Regions from separate parts of the Homo sapiens genome. Here regions 1 and 3 are each linked to region 2. Evidence: promoter capture Hi-C in 16 types of primary human blood cells and fetal thymus (Javierre and others, 2016). All regions are on one chromosome and are shown on one strand. Each heading gives the region's core, a stretch centred on a gene start or on the middle of the fragment in contact. The rest is flanking DNA. Distances are from core to core; before and after follow the strand shown.

Region 1 (4,686 bases), core at 396-2,895, 1.2 Mb after region 2:
GGAGAGCAACAGATGCCCCAGAGGCCATTAAGCCCCCAGGCCTGAGGTCCACACAGGCACTGCAGGACGCAGGGGTTGCAGAAGACAGGGGCTGCACAGAGCTCTGAGCCAGCTCACAGCACAAGGGGCCACCGGCCTTCTAGCACTTACCGCACCTATCCCTGTCCCCACTGAAACGAGGAAACCTTGAGTGACAGGGCCCTCAGATGAGTCCCAAAATCCCCAGGCCGCTACACACTAAGGGCCTGGTTCTCCACTCTGCTGCCGCCGAAGACCTGAATAAAGCTTCAGATACAATCCCCCCGTTGCCCACGTTCCCCAAGGAGTGGAAAAAACCCCTCCCGATAACCTCCACAAGGGCCACTCACTTGGGCTTCCGGCCCCCACACAGCAGGACTTCTTTAAAAAGGCTTCCTAAAGGTGCAAAAGCCCAGCTTAGTTTCAACAGCAGAGCTGGGGGCTCTCAGCCACACCGTCGCTCTCCTTTATTTTCCGTGTGTCTCTCAGGCCTCGCCACTAACAGGACACCAACGGTTTCAAAGCTTACGATGAGGGCAAGCTTTCAGAAAGATTTCTTTAAAACGTCTAGGGAAGGGAAAAAGCCAGCTCGCTTACCGTCTGGAATACTCTCCTCTTCTCCTGGGGCAAATAGCATGAAGCGAGCAGAAGTAAAATGAAACCATCACGGCAGACGCAGGCAAGGAGCTTGGGCCACCTTCTTCTGCAGCTTGGAGAGGGTCTCTCCCCACCCCTACCTCCTTAACTTCCTCCTCCTGTTCACTCAACCAAAGCCCGTCTGGCCTGGGGCCTGCTGAAAGTCTAGCACCCGGACACCCGGGAACCCGCACATTATGAAAAAGAATGAGACAGCCGCCAAGTCTTAACTGTGTGCCACCTCTGGGGCCACAGATTGAAAGAGTCTGTGTTGCACATGTGGGGAAAATTATTATGCTTTAAGCTTCCCCTAATTCTATTTCAACATAGCGTGGAGATAAAGTGCCATGTTGAAAACAACAAGAAAAACACCCGGGTTACGTTCAGCGCCACTGCATCAAGCAAAATCACCTTTAGCAAAATCATCTGGTCTTGAAACGTTAAGCTCACAAAGAACTTCAGCATTAGCAAGGTACAGCTCACCTGCTGGGGTGGGAATTGATGAAGCTTTGGTCCCCAAATTCACACATAGAGGCCAGCAGGGGAGTGGTGGACTTCAGCCATTGAAATAGATAATAAAGCCATTTCGTCAGCTACATTTCACAAAAACTATGTTACTATTAAAAATGTAAAAGACGAGATATTAACATTGAAAACAAAAAATAATCTCTATTATTTAACATATTGAAAAACTTGAATTTAGAACTCTAAAAATATCATAAATTATTTTTGAAGGGTAATGAGGTTTTAAAATTTTTCACTGCGATGAGGGTGTAGATTTAGACATGACATTGAGAAGTAATAAAGTCTGAAATTCCCCTCTGATCTGGCCGCTAAGGGGGATGGATATCAAACGCTAGAAAATCCGTCCCCTTCAGACCTTCATTGGCCCAGTTCAAATTCTCTGGAAAACTATTAAAGCAGGCAAAGAGGCTCAAATTTTATAAAATCGGGGGAAAGCAGGACTCACCCTGGGTTGCAGTTAGCAAACGGGAAATGTTTATTCTTCCCTTCCTTCACCTCCTAAACTGGGGACGGCTGGACACTGAGATGGAGTGGCACTGTTTGTTTTGACAATTAGCATGTTTTTGTGCATTTAAGAAAATGCATCACGGCAAACTCATGGTCCGGTCCTTCAGGCAGCCCCCTCCAACTGGGCGGTTTCTCGAAAAGAAAAAATCCTAGAGTGGGATTTTAAAATTAATCAAAAGCCTTTTTCTGTCACTAAACAAGACAGCAGGTGTGTGCTCCTATTCTCTGGTCGTTTTTATGTGTCTACACATATACCCACCTGTGTAACAAAAATAATCAAAGCAGGTGGGTTTGCAAACACACCTCGTTTGTAAAAAATGCAACAACACAAACACACTGTCCAAACTTTGGGCAGAAAAAACAACATGGGTTTATTTTAAGGTAAGTACAACGATTAAGACCACGTAAGACAAACACAGATGAAGTTAGAGTTTTTAAGCTTTTTTTTTTTTTTTCTTTTAGGAATACTCAGGGTGGAACCTACTATACAAAACCATCACACTTTGTAAATAAAAAGTATCAGATACTTGACTTCTTTATCCACCAACAAAAAAATAAATTATTTTCTTGTTTTGTAAAAGACCTACAATGGGAAAAAGAATTATATCTCATAATTGTACAGGAAACAAAACCCACATCGGTTTCTTGAATTCAATTTGGCAGTTAGAAATGGTTGGGCAAGATGAAAAACTTATCCAGTGAACTCAACTTTAAATATTATATTAATGGCTCTGAACAACAACAACAACAACAAAATAGCCTGATTACAAATCCACACATTTGTACAGCACGGTTGGAGAAATTTAAAATTACACACAGCACATATATTATCTATAGAGACCCCCATACACCTATGGGGACCCCTACAGAAAGTCACTAGGGGCTCGCTATGGGATTTGGTCCATAACTTAACTTTTGAAAGCTCAGGTCGAGCACAGCACAGCCGTCCTGGTAGGGGAGGGGGATTTTAAGATCAATACTCATTTTGTTGGGCTGCGTCCCTTTGGAGGGGTTTCCTGGGATCCCAGAAACGGGGCGGCGAATTAAAGTTACCTGCGCTCTTCACAGACGGCTGGGGGCTAGCGTGCCCGCTCTCTGCTCCCGGGTCTGAGAAAAGGTTGGTGGACATGTTTTGTTTCTTTTTTGCGTCTCTGCAGCCCCTTAATTGTCTGGTTGGGTCGGGGCTGGGAAGCGAAGCCGGAGCGGGCCGGGGAGGGGAGGTCCCGGGACACGTCAGTATTTCGTGCAGTCGTAGGAGTAGGGGGCTGCGTGGCGATAGAGAGGCGGCGTGGATCTGTAGGGCAGCTGGCAGCTGGCATTGCCACTCACCTGGGACTCCCCGAGGGTCGAGTTCTCAATCCCCAGCCGGTGGGAGTTGAACATCTCCCGCACGTTGGGGAAAGTTTGCTGCTGGGCCGCGAACGTGTGGCCGGGGAGGTGGTTCAGGTCCCCGCTGTGGTTGAGATACCAGGAGGCCGCCTGCGCCGCGGCGGCCCCGGGCTGCGGCGTCGGCTGGGGCTGGGGAGCCGGCGGGGGCGGCGGCGCCTGCGGGTGGTGGTGGCCGTGGTGCTGGTGGTGGTGGCCCGTGGCGGCGAGCGCGCCCTCCTGGCCGGCGGCGAGGTTGAGAGCGCTCAGGGGCGACGTGGGGCCGCTCGGGTGGTCCGAGAGGGCCTCGTCCAGGGCGGGCGGGACGCACATGTGCGCCGGCCGCTCGGCCCCGGTGTACAGGCTCATCGCTCGCATGCTGCACTGGTAGCCCCCGGCGGCCCCGGCCTCCAGGCCCTGAGCGCACGGCTGGCCGTAGGCGGCGGGCGGCGCGGCGGCGTAGGGCAGCGCCAGCGGCGGCACCACCAGGCCCGCGCGTCCGGCCCCCGGGCTCAGCTCTCCGCCCGGCGGCGACGTTCGCAGGGTCATGATGTTCTCCACGCTGAAGCCAGGCAGCCCGTTGGGCGCCGCGGCGTGGTGCTCCGGCAGCGAGCCGTCGGGGGAGCCGGCGGGCGTGGAGGCCGCGCTGCGCGGGCTGCCCTGCAGCGCGCTCTCGGGGCTCAGCGTCTCCACCTTGGTGATGACCGGCAGCGCCGGGGACGCCGCCTCGCTCTTGATCACCACCTTCTTCTCGGCCTCCTTGGGGGCGTCCGCTAGGTGGGGGGTGGCCGGGGCGCCCTTGGACGCCGCCGGGGGCGGCTCCTTGAGGTGGGCCCGCTCCTCCTTCTCCTTGGACACGTCCTTCTTTTTGAAGCGCCGCCGGCGCCGCAGGAAGCTGCCGTTCTCGAACATGTTGTAGGAGTCCGGGTCCAGGGTCCAGTAACTGCCCTTGCCGGGCTTCTTGTCGTCGCGGGGCACCTTGACGAAGCACTCGTTGAGCGAGAGGTTGTGGCGGATGCTGTTCTGCCAGCCCTGCTTGTTCTCCCGGTAGAAGGGGAAGCGGTCCATGATGAACTGGTAGATGCCGTTCAAGGTGATCTTCTTCTCGGGCGCGTTCTGGATGGCCATGGTGATGAGCGCGATGTAGCTGTAGGGCGGCTTCACCAGGTCCTTAGGCGCCGCGGGCTGGTGGTGGTGGTAGGGCGCGTAGGAGCGGCCCATCCCCGCGCTGTACTGCTCCGGGTGGCCGGAATAGACGCCCATGGGGCTGGCCATGCCGCCGTAGCTGCCCGCAGCCCGGTAGTAATTCTGCTCGCTCAGGTAGGGCACCACTCCCAGGGCGTTGGGGTCGGACACGGAGTAGCGCGCCTGCATGCTGCTTCCGAGACGGCTCGCCGGCGCCCTCGCGCACGGACTGCGGCCGGGGGAGCGAGGGGGGCCCTGAGAGCGAGAGAGCGCGAGAGAGCCAGAGGGGGAGAGGAGGGGAGCGGGAGGGGCGGCCCCGGGCTCCTGGCAGCCTCCGGGGCGAGGGTGCGCGGGCGGCGGCGCTCGGGCCGAGCAGGGGCGCGCGCTTTCAGCGGACCGGGCGGATCGGCATCCTGGAGGGCGCGCCCCGGGCAAGCGCAGCGCCGGCCC
Region 2 (4,360 bases), core at 1,276-3,775:
GCAATGGCGTGATCTGGGCTCACCGCAACCTTTCCTCCCGGTTCAAGCAATTCTCCTACCTCAGCCTCCTGAGTAGCTGGGATTAAAGGTGCACACCACCACACCTGGCTAATTTTTTTGTATTTTTGTAGAGACGGGGTTTCACCATGTTGGCCAGGCTGGTTTTGAACTCCTGACCTCGTGATCTGCCCACCTTGGCCTCCCAAAGTGCTGGGATTACAGATGTGAGCCACTACGCCTGGCCGAGTTAACTTCTTCTTTTTTTTTTTTTTTTTGAGACGGAGTCTAGCTCTGTTGCCCAGGCTGGAGTGCAGTGGTTCAGTCTCGGCTCACTGCAACCTCTGTCTCCCAGGCTCAAGCCATTCTCCTGACTCAGCCTCCCGAGTAGCTGGGATTACAGGTGCGCACCACCATGCCTGTCTAATTTTGTATTTTTAGTGGAGATGGGGTTTCACCATGTTGATCAGGCTGGTCTCAAACTCCTGACCTCAGGTGATCTGCCTGCCTCTGCCTCTCAAAGTGCTAGGATTACAGGCGTGAGCCATCACACCTGGCTGGATCTAAGATAACATCTTTTTTTTTTTTTTTTTTTGAGATGGAGTCTTGCTTTGTCGCCCAGGCTGGAGTGCAGTGGTGCAATCTCCGCTCACTGCAACCTCTGCCGCCTAGGTTCAAATGATTCTTTTGCCTCAGCCTCCTGAATAGTTGGGACTACAGGTGGGTGCCACCACACCTGGCTAATTTTTTTTTTTTTTTTTGTATTTTTAGTGGAGACAGGGTTTCACCATATTGGCCAGGCTGGTCTTGAACTCCTGACCTCGTGATCAGCCCGCTTCAGCCTCCCAAAGTGCTGGGATTACAGGAATGAACCACCACGCCTGGCCTAAGAGAACTTTTAAAGGCTGACTCACACACAAAGTAATAAACTAGATTATTTCCTGATTTATGCTTTCCCTTTGCCAAATTTTGGCTTGTCCTTGTCCTTAATTTGCCTTATTCCTTGATTACCCATCCAAAGATGACATCTTCTAAGTAGTGATAAGCATTTTTACTCTGCTCTTTCAAATCATAACATTCCATGCACTGCAGATGATTTTGCCATTTCTTACGTAATTTGAGGCAAATCCTAGAGTACAATTTCCTAGCAGGCATTTGGATATTACCTATCTTTATTTCTCAGGCTCCACAAATTGAGTACCCTTTCAGGGTGCTATCATTAGCTCTAGCCTACCTATGAAGAAACAAAAGTCCTCCATGTTAGGACATTTGAGGACATGCCCTTAGTACCTAACAGTGTCTGGCACATTTTAAATGGGAAGGTGGAAGGGCCCCCCCATTTTTTTTTTTTTTTAAGATGGAATTTTGCTCTTTTGCCCAAGCTGGAGTGAAGTGGCTTGATCTCAGCTCATTGCAACCTCTGCCCCCTGGGTTCAAGCAATTCTCCTGCCTCAGCCTCCCAAGTAGCTGGGATTACAGGTGCCCACCACCACGCCTGGCTAATTTTTGTAGTTTTAGTAGAGACGGGGGTTTCACCATGTTGGCTAGGCTGGTCTCGAACTCCTGACCTCGTGATCCACTCACCTCGGCCTCCCAAAGTGCTGGGATTACAGGCGTGAGCCACCGCGCCCGGCAGGGACTGTCTTACTCAGGATCTGCAAAATCTTATAACTGTGTGAAATTTTTTTTCTGGGAAAAAAGCACTCATTTGTTTGGTCTGAGGGGAAAAAATGGGGCTAGCCCAAGAGTCGCCCACTTAGTTCTACCCAGGGCGAAGCAATGTGCCTTAACGGGGGGCACGTGCACCCCGGAAAACTCAAGAGAAAATGAGCCGGGCGTGGTGGGCTCCTGTGGTCCCAGCTACTCCAGAGGCGGAGGTTACAGCGAGCCGAGATCGCGCTACCGCACTCCAGCCTGGGCGACAGAGCAAGACCCTGCCTCAAAAAAATAGAAATAAAAAATAAAACTCAGAGGGCACGTCTCCTAGGACACGGGGACAGGCTAGGTGGGGGCACAGGGCGTGAGAATTGGCGAGCATGGCCGGGGTATGTCAGGCCGGGGCTGCCATCTTTTTTGTTTTTTGAAACAGGATCTCGCTCTGTCGCCCAGGTTGGGGTGCAGGGGCGCATTGCTGCCTGGAACTCCTTGACTCAAGCGATCTTCCCGCCTCACCTTCCCGAGGAGCTAGGACCACTGGGCGCGAGACACCACGCCCGGTTAATTTTTTTTTTTTTCTTCTGTAGCGACTGGGGGTGGGGGGTGGTGTCTCGCTTTGTTGCCCAGGCTGATCTCGAACTCCTGGACTCAAGCGATCCGCCCGCCAAGGCCTCCCAAAGCTCCAGGGTTACAGGCATGAGCCACCGCGCCCAGCCCGGGGCCGGTCATCTTTTCCGGGGCCTTATGCAGAGTCCGAGGCCCCCGAGCCCGCTGCCGAAGACGGAGCTCCAAGACCGAACCTCGTAAAGGGCCCAGCCGCACCTCTACCCGGAAGCGGCTCGAACTCGGGGCCGGAAGTGACTCCATTTCTGTGCGCCGAGCTCCGCCCCACGAGCACCTGTTTCCGAGCGGAGAGCGCGGGCCGTTTTCTTTCCTGGTGTCCCGTCGCGGCTTGGGACCCGGCAAGATGGGCAAGAAGGGCAAGAAGGAGAAGAAGGGCCGCGGCGCGGAGAAGACGGCCGCCAAGATGGAGAAGAAGGTGTCTAAGCGCTCGCGGAAGGAGGAGGTGAGCGGGTCAGACCGGGCTTAGCGGCCCGACGTCGCGGCCGTGCAGCCTCGGCCGACTCCCTGCGCCCCCCGGGGTTACGGGTCGGCCGTGGGAGCCGCGCCGGCCCTGCGGGAGAGCTGGAGGCCGTAGGAACTGCCCCGGCGCCGCGTCCGGGCAGCCCAGACGGGGCCCGCCCCCTCCTGAGTCTCCACGTGTGTCTGTCCGCTTCTCGGAGCTGCCCCCTTTAACGTGCTTGCTTTTCTTAGTGTGGTGTCACGGGCGTTTTTCTGCGTTTCCTCCCCCTCCTCCCTTCTCCCTCCACCCTCCCTCTGAAGGGAGGCTGGGTGGTGAGAAGAGGGAGGGGTTTGGCACAGGAAGACCTGAGGTTGAGCCGGGGGCTGCCTCTGCATGATGTGTGGTCTGGGAGTAAGACTCTTAACTTTTCTGAACCTTACTTTTCTTTCAAAAGAGGGCAAATAATCATCACAGCAGCCCTGAGCAGTGAGCAGCAGATGGTTAAGTGAAGAAGGCACTGGAGCCACGGGGTATCCCGTAGCAGCTGATGGCGGCCATCACGGTTGTCTCCTTCCCTCTGGTCCTCAGCCCGGGGTCTGCAGGAGGATCCGTCCTGACCTTGGGGTTGAGTGTTCTGCGGCTGCTGCTCATGGATTCCCTAACCGGGGCCAGTTTTATGGCCTGCCGTGCGCCAGGCACAGCTCCCTGGGCTTTACTCCTCACGAGCAGGTCAGTTCCGTAGCACTGGTATTCCCATTTGACAGGAAGACCAACAGGTGAACCATGAAGTGGTATGGAACTGGGATGTGACCAGATGTCCTGAATCAGGAGCTCTTGACCACAGTCCTTTGTCCCTTTTCTTCCTAAGTCATTGATCTCTCCATGTCCTCATCTCTTAAATAATGGAGTTGGACTTTTCCCTCACACTCCTCTTAGGCTCTTTCTTTTTTTTTTTTTTTTTTTTGACAGAGTCTTGCTCTGTCACCTAGGCTGGGCTGCAGTGGCATGACCTGCTGGCTAGGGTTGTGGCACAGGAAGTCAGTTCATCTGTGTGGTATCTTCAGAATGGTGCTTGGCAGAAAGTAAGCACTCAGTAACCAGCTGTTAGCTGCTTTCTGCTTTTTTTTTTTTTTTTTTTTTTTTTTTTTGAAGGAGTTTCACTCTTGTTGCCCAGGGTGGAGTGCAATGGTGCGATCTCAGCTCACTGCACCTCCGCCTCCCAGGTTCAAGTGGTTCTCCTGCCTCAGCCTCCCAAGTAGCTGAGATTACAGGCATGCACCACCACACCCAGCTAATTTTGTATTTTTAATAGAGACCGGGTTTCACCGTTTTGGTCAGGCTGGTCTGGGACTCCTGACCTCAGGTGATGCGCTCGCCTCGGCCTCCCAAAGTGCTGGGATTACAAGCCGTAAGCCACCTTGCCCCGCCAGTTACCTGTCATTTTTACTCATCTCCATGTCTCCCTCCAGTACCCAATACTAAGGTGATTGTAACAGTAGCTTCCCTTAAGAGAGAGAGCCTGTCAGGCCTGGGGTTTGTATGTTATCTGAATGAACCCTCAAAACAAACTTTTAAAATAAGTGGGCGTCTGATTAGGCTAGACCCACAGAGGATCATCTCTTTCTTAAATTCAGCTGTGTCTGT
Region 3 (4,686 bases), core at 482-2,981, 1.2 Mb after region 2:
GTTCTTTCTCAGGGTATGCAGAGGTCAGGGTAAGAATCCACGGGTGTTTCTCAAAGGATGGCCTCTGGCCGTCCGCAGCGCAGTCGCCGGGGCTGGGCTGGCCTCGAATTTCCATCTGCCTGCCGCTTTAAAGAGCTGCCGGCTGAATCCGCTGCACACCCACGTGTGAGCACCTGAGAGTCTGCAGGATCTCAGAGGAGGGAACCGCGTCCTACATGAGGAGCAATCAAGGCCGGCTTTCCGGAGGAGGCGGCCTCTAGGACTGGAAGAGGAGGCGGGATGTGTTTCAACCGGCAATGGGTCCCGAGAGACCAGGGACTTGTTCACTTCAGTAACTCCAGGGCTTGGCAAAACGCCTGTCACGGGCGGCGCTCGACAATGACTAGCTGAAAGCAAGAGCGAAGGGCCTGGGAGCATCCCTGACTGTCCCCGGCGCGGATTTTACCCGCCCGAGCATGCGCGCCTGGGCCTCGCCCGCTCAGCCTCCGCCCCTCCTACCATCGCGCAGGCGCGGAGCGGGTGACGTCACTACGCGCCAGAACCTGCGCCGGGAAGCGTCGCACAGCGACTGCATCACCATGGAGCCGAGGGCAGGTGGGGGGCCTGGCGGGGCTCCGGGGCGGCTGGGAATGGGGAGGGACAGCCGGGACCGGTGAGGGTCGAGGCGGGGCCACCGGGGCTGGCAGAGGATGGGGCAGAATCACCGGAAGCGGCCGAGGAGGTCAGAGGGGGTCTGTGCTGGGTTCGGGTCGAACCAGCGGCTCTCTCGCCCGGAATCCCGAGAAAGATGTCAGGAAAAATAAAGATAACGAGAAGACGAGGCGGGAGGGACACCTGCCGTGCACGTGGGGGAGCCCGTGGGCCCCTTGAGGTCGGGGAAACTGAGGCTCAGGAACAGGATCGGAAGCCGGTTTGACCTACACGCGGGGGTCGCTTAACTACTGTTAAGCGGTTTCAGCATGGGCTCTGGAATTCCTTTGTATGTTATTAAGTGGGAATCTTTTGTTGCAGTAGGTGTCTCCAAACAGGACATACGTGAACAAATTTGGGGCTACATGGAATCACAAAATTTAGCTGACTTTCCCCGACCTGTTCATCACAGGATACCCAACTTTAAGGTACTGACATATTTCTGGAGTCCAGAAAAGGAAAACAAAATATTCTTAAATGAATAACACTAGTAATAAAATTCTCTTACTGCGTCATGGTGGATGAGAATGTGGCGAGCAGTGAGCAGTGGTGTGAAATCAAAGCCATTTGGCCAGGGCGTCCTTAGCATTTAGAGACGTCATTTACTCTTCACCTGGGGCCTCTTGCGTCTCTGTGCAGGGTGGTTTGGTTGTCTCTAGGTGAGGTTGTGTCCAGAATTGGTGGGTTCTTGGTCTCACTGACTTCAAGAATGAAGCCTCGCAGTGAGTGTTACAGTTTTTAAAGGCAGCGTGTCTGGAGTTTGTTCCTTCTGATGTTTGGATGTGTTCAGAGTTTCTTCCTTCTGGTGGGTTCACGGTCTTTGCTGGCTTCAGGAGTGAAGCTGCAGACCTTAGCAGAGAGTGTTGCAGCTCACAAAGGCAGGGTGGACTCAAAGAATGAGCAGCAGCAAGATTTATTGCAAAGAACAAACCTTCCACAATGTGGAAGGGGATTGGAGAGGGTTGTTGCTGCTGGTTCAGGCAGCCTGCTTTTAATCTCTTATCTGGCCCCACCCACATCCTGCTGATTGGTCCATTTTACAGAGAGCCGATTGGTCCGTTTTGACAGGATGCTGATTGGTGCGTTTACAATCCCTGAGCTAGACACAAAAGTTCTCCACCTCCCCACTAGATTAGCTACATACAGAGTGCCCATTGGTGCATTCACAAACTCTGAGCTAGACACAGGGTGCTGATTGGTGTGTTTACAATCCCTTAGCTAGACATAAAGATTCTCCAAGTCCCCACCAGCCTCAGGAGCCCAGCTGACTTCACCCAGCAGATCCCGCACTGGGGCTGCAGGTGGAGCTGCCTGCCAGTCCCGTGCAGTGCACCCGCACTCCTCAGCCGTTGGGCAGTGGATGGCACCAGGCACCGTGGAGCAGGAGCGTCGCTCCTCGGGGAGGCTCTAGCTGCACAGGAGCCCGCCGGTGGGGGTGGGGAGGCTCAGGCATGGCAGGCTGCAGGTCTTGGGGAGGCAGCTAAGGCCCGGCGAGAAATAGAGCACAGCAGCTGGTGGCCCAGGTGCTAAGCCCCTCACTGCCCAGGGCCAGCCGCTGTGAGTGCGGGGCTCCCCACGCCTACATGGAACTCGCGCTGGCCCACAAGCACCATGCACAGCAGCAGTTCCCGCCCGCGCCTCTCCCTCCACACCGCCCAGCAAGCTGAGGGAGCCGGCCTGGGCCAGTCCAGAAAGGGGCTCCCACAGTGCAGCTGCGGGATGAAGGGCTCCTCAAGCACGGCCAGAGTAGGCGCCAAGGCCGAGGAGGCGCCGAGAGGGACCGAGGGCTGCCAGCACGCTGTCACCTTTCAAGGTGGTGCTAGTTGCTGTTTTCTGTTTGATACAAAGTAAAATATTTATCCTGGCCGGAAGCATGTTATTGTCGTAATGGCTTTTCACAAAATTGACCCTGCTAAGAGCGTTAGGGAATGAAGGGGTACTGAACTGGAAGTTCAGGCTCTAGGCCTTTGGAAAGAAATGAATGCCTTGCCAGCCTAAGGATGCTGGGCCTCAGTTTCCCAGCTGATCAAAATGTAAGACAATCAAAGATGGCTGTTCCTAACAGTGTTGACAGAAAAAAAAAAGGTTACTCGGAAGAGGCAATGCAGCAGTTCATCATCTTTGACATGCCTATTTTCCAAGAGCAAAAGAAAGCGCTTTTCAAAAATGCTCTCTGCCCTGAAGGACTTAGCTGTTGGCTTGCTTCACCCCATTTTGTCAGGACTGCCTCTCCCCAAGCCTGGCTTCTCCACAACAAGCTCCACCTTCCCTGGTCCTCAGCTGAGGTGGTTCCAAGACTGTCCTGTCCCTTTGAAAAACTGATCTTTTGATGGTTTTTTGTTGTTACTGTGTTTTGTTTTAATGCTTCTGACCCCAGAGAGAGAAATGTATCTTAACAGAGGTAAAGATGAAGGATGTAGAGAATCATGTAGAAATCTTTAAAAAACGAATCAAACAGGAGAGAGGTGGGGGCTTCCAGGTCATGCTACTGCTTGATTTTGGTGGTGGTTACACAGCAGCCTTCATTTTGTGAAAAATCATCAAATTTTGCCCTTGGGATTTGTATTCTTTTTGGAATGCATGTTTCATTTCAGTTAAAGCTCAAGTGGGATTAGGCTACTTTTCTCAAATCCCTTTCCTTACTTAGACTGCTTCCTTAGATGTTTCTTTGGGTGACTGTTAGTGCCTGTCTGGGTGAGATTCTGGGCCGAGCTGCTTGGGCTGCAGTTGGCCTGAGAGCGTGCTGTCCTTTCAGTAACGTGCGATTGCATTGGAAACAGGGCGCTTCTCATGCTGCCGAGCAACTCCCACGCTTGCAGGCGTTCAAAACGGCCAGGACCATTAAAGTAAATCCTGATGCCCCCCAGAAAAGTGCTCGCTTCTTCGTCCTTGAAGTAAGTGCAACTCTGTCTATTTGCCTAACTAGGGGTCTTATCTGGCTTGCCAAAACATCAAAGACCTAGACGTTTTTGCCAGAACACAGGAAGTTAAAGTGGACCCTGATAAACCACTGGAAGGCGTTCGGCTGCTGGTGCTGCAGGTAATTCCACTTCCCTGAGCCGAGCCGAGACCTGGCCGCCAAGGGGGACACCTTTTCCAGGTAGCTGGTCAGTGCACACGTCTGTCTTGCATTTAGAAAGTCGGTGCTTCCGATTCCCTCCAATACAGAAAGTGCCCTTGGTGGTGATTTTTCCAAGAATAGTTCAGAAGCCCTTCAGCTGTTTAGCAATTCAGTCAATCAGGAGTCCCGAATGCTTCTAAATTCAGAGATAAAGGATGTTCAAAACAATGGCTTCCAGGCCCAGTTGGCACAGGAGAGGGAACCCAGGCAGAACCTGTGGTGTTCCAGAATTGAGGAGCTGGAGCTGAAATAGATGACACCACTTTGCCATTTGAAATGAGCATGCTAACAAGCTTGCTGAACACAGAATCATTTGCTTCTGGATGACAGACGGTCACTTGTCATGTTCTGATACTATAAAGACCACGGTTAAGAACTGGAAAGGTTTCTTCTCAACACTGCTGAACTTTTTAAATTCAGGCATGCTTTTGTAATTTTTATTTTTTAACTTCCTAACCAAACAAACACAAAAACTATGGCGTTGAAGCATTCTCAGTTTTGATGTGCTTCATCAGAGGAGGAAGATTACAAGGAAGATTTAGTTCTTTTTGCCACAGTTGTGGTATTATGATGCTTTGAAACATGATAAATCACGAGTAAGAAGTCTGATGTACCCTCAAAAGGTATCGGTTAGAGCACTTGTTCCTCAACTGAAAACATACAGGCCCCTTTTCAAGGAAAACCAGAAAACTCCCCCAGGGTTGATTTAAATTAGTTTATTATAAACTAATTCAATATGATAAACATAAAACTTGGTATAAATTTTAATGCAGATAGCTTTTATGTAACTATAAAACCAAAATAAGCATATAAGTTAAATACAAACAAAACTATAAAATCAGTAACATTCAAATGGCCCCATTAATTTAACGTAA

What was found. The method cuts DNA at HindIII sites, captures the fragments that hold promoters and counts their contacts. A CHiCAGO score of 5 or more calls a contact.
Region 1: a fragment that was not itself captured here is called in contact with the fragment with the promoter of KLHDC4 in region 2 in 3 of 17 cell types (naive CD8 T cells, total CD4 T cells and naive CD4 T cells); the score reaches 14.1 in naive CD8 T cells.
Region 3: a contact is called between a fragment that was not itself captured here and the fragment with the promoter of KLHDC4 in region 2, in 8 of 17 cell types (naive CD8 T cells, total CD4 T cells, naive CD4 T cells and 5 more). The highest score is 18.6, in naive CD8 T cells.

The regions. Positions count from the first base shown.
Region 1 is chr16:86,567,075-86,571,760 of GRCh38, reverse strand. FOXC2 (forkhead box C2) reads right to left here. Exons shown (of 1, transcript NM_005251.3): 1 at 2,033-4,686. The coding sequence starts at 4,425. The coding sequence ends at 2,920. FOXC2-AS1 (FOXC2 antisense RNA 1) reads left to right here and starts at 4,000. Exons shown (of 2, transcript NR_125795.1): 1 at 4,000-4,144. RefSeq lists enhancers at 919-1,420, 3,629-4,212, 4,213-4,686. The HindIII fragment of the contact is 964 bases long and covers 1,164-2,127 here.
Region 2 is chr16:87,764,151-87,768,510 of GRCh38, reverse strand. It overlaps KLHDC4 (kelch domain containing 4), which reads left to right and starts at 2,525. Exons shown (of 12, transcript NM_017566.4): 1 at 2,525-2,719. The coding sequence starts at 2,621. LOC105371399 (a long non-coding RNA gene) reads right to left here and starts at 2,470. Exons shown (of 3, transcript XR_933871.3): 1 at 2,170-2,470. It overlaps LOC102724467 (a long non-coding RNA gene), which reads left to right. Exons shown (of 4, transcript NR_120309.1): 4 at 2,087-2,180. RefSeq lists enhancers at 2,430-2,489, 2,570-2,629, 2,613-3,237. The HindIII fragment of the contact is 5,415 bases long and covers 1-4,360 here.
Region 3 is chr16:86,551,077-86,555,762 of GRCh38, reverse strand. It overlaps MTHFSD (methenyltetrahydrofolate synthetase domain containing), which reads left to right and starts at 528. Exons shown (of 8, transcript NM_001159377.2): 1 at 528-594; 2 at 1,012-1,118; 3 at 3,617-3,730. The coding sequence starts at 579. FLJ30679 (a long non-coding RNA gene) reads right to left here and starts at 443. Exons shown (of 1, transcript NR_026674.1): 1 at 1-443. RefSeq lists enhancers at 246-535, 576-625, 1,594-2,256, 2,257-2,921 and a silencer at 458-671. The HindIII fragment of the contact is 4,750 bases long and covers 1-4,106 here.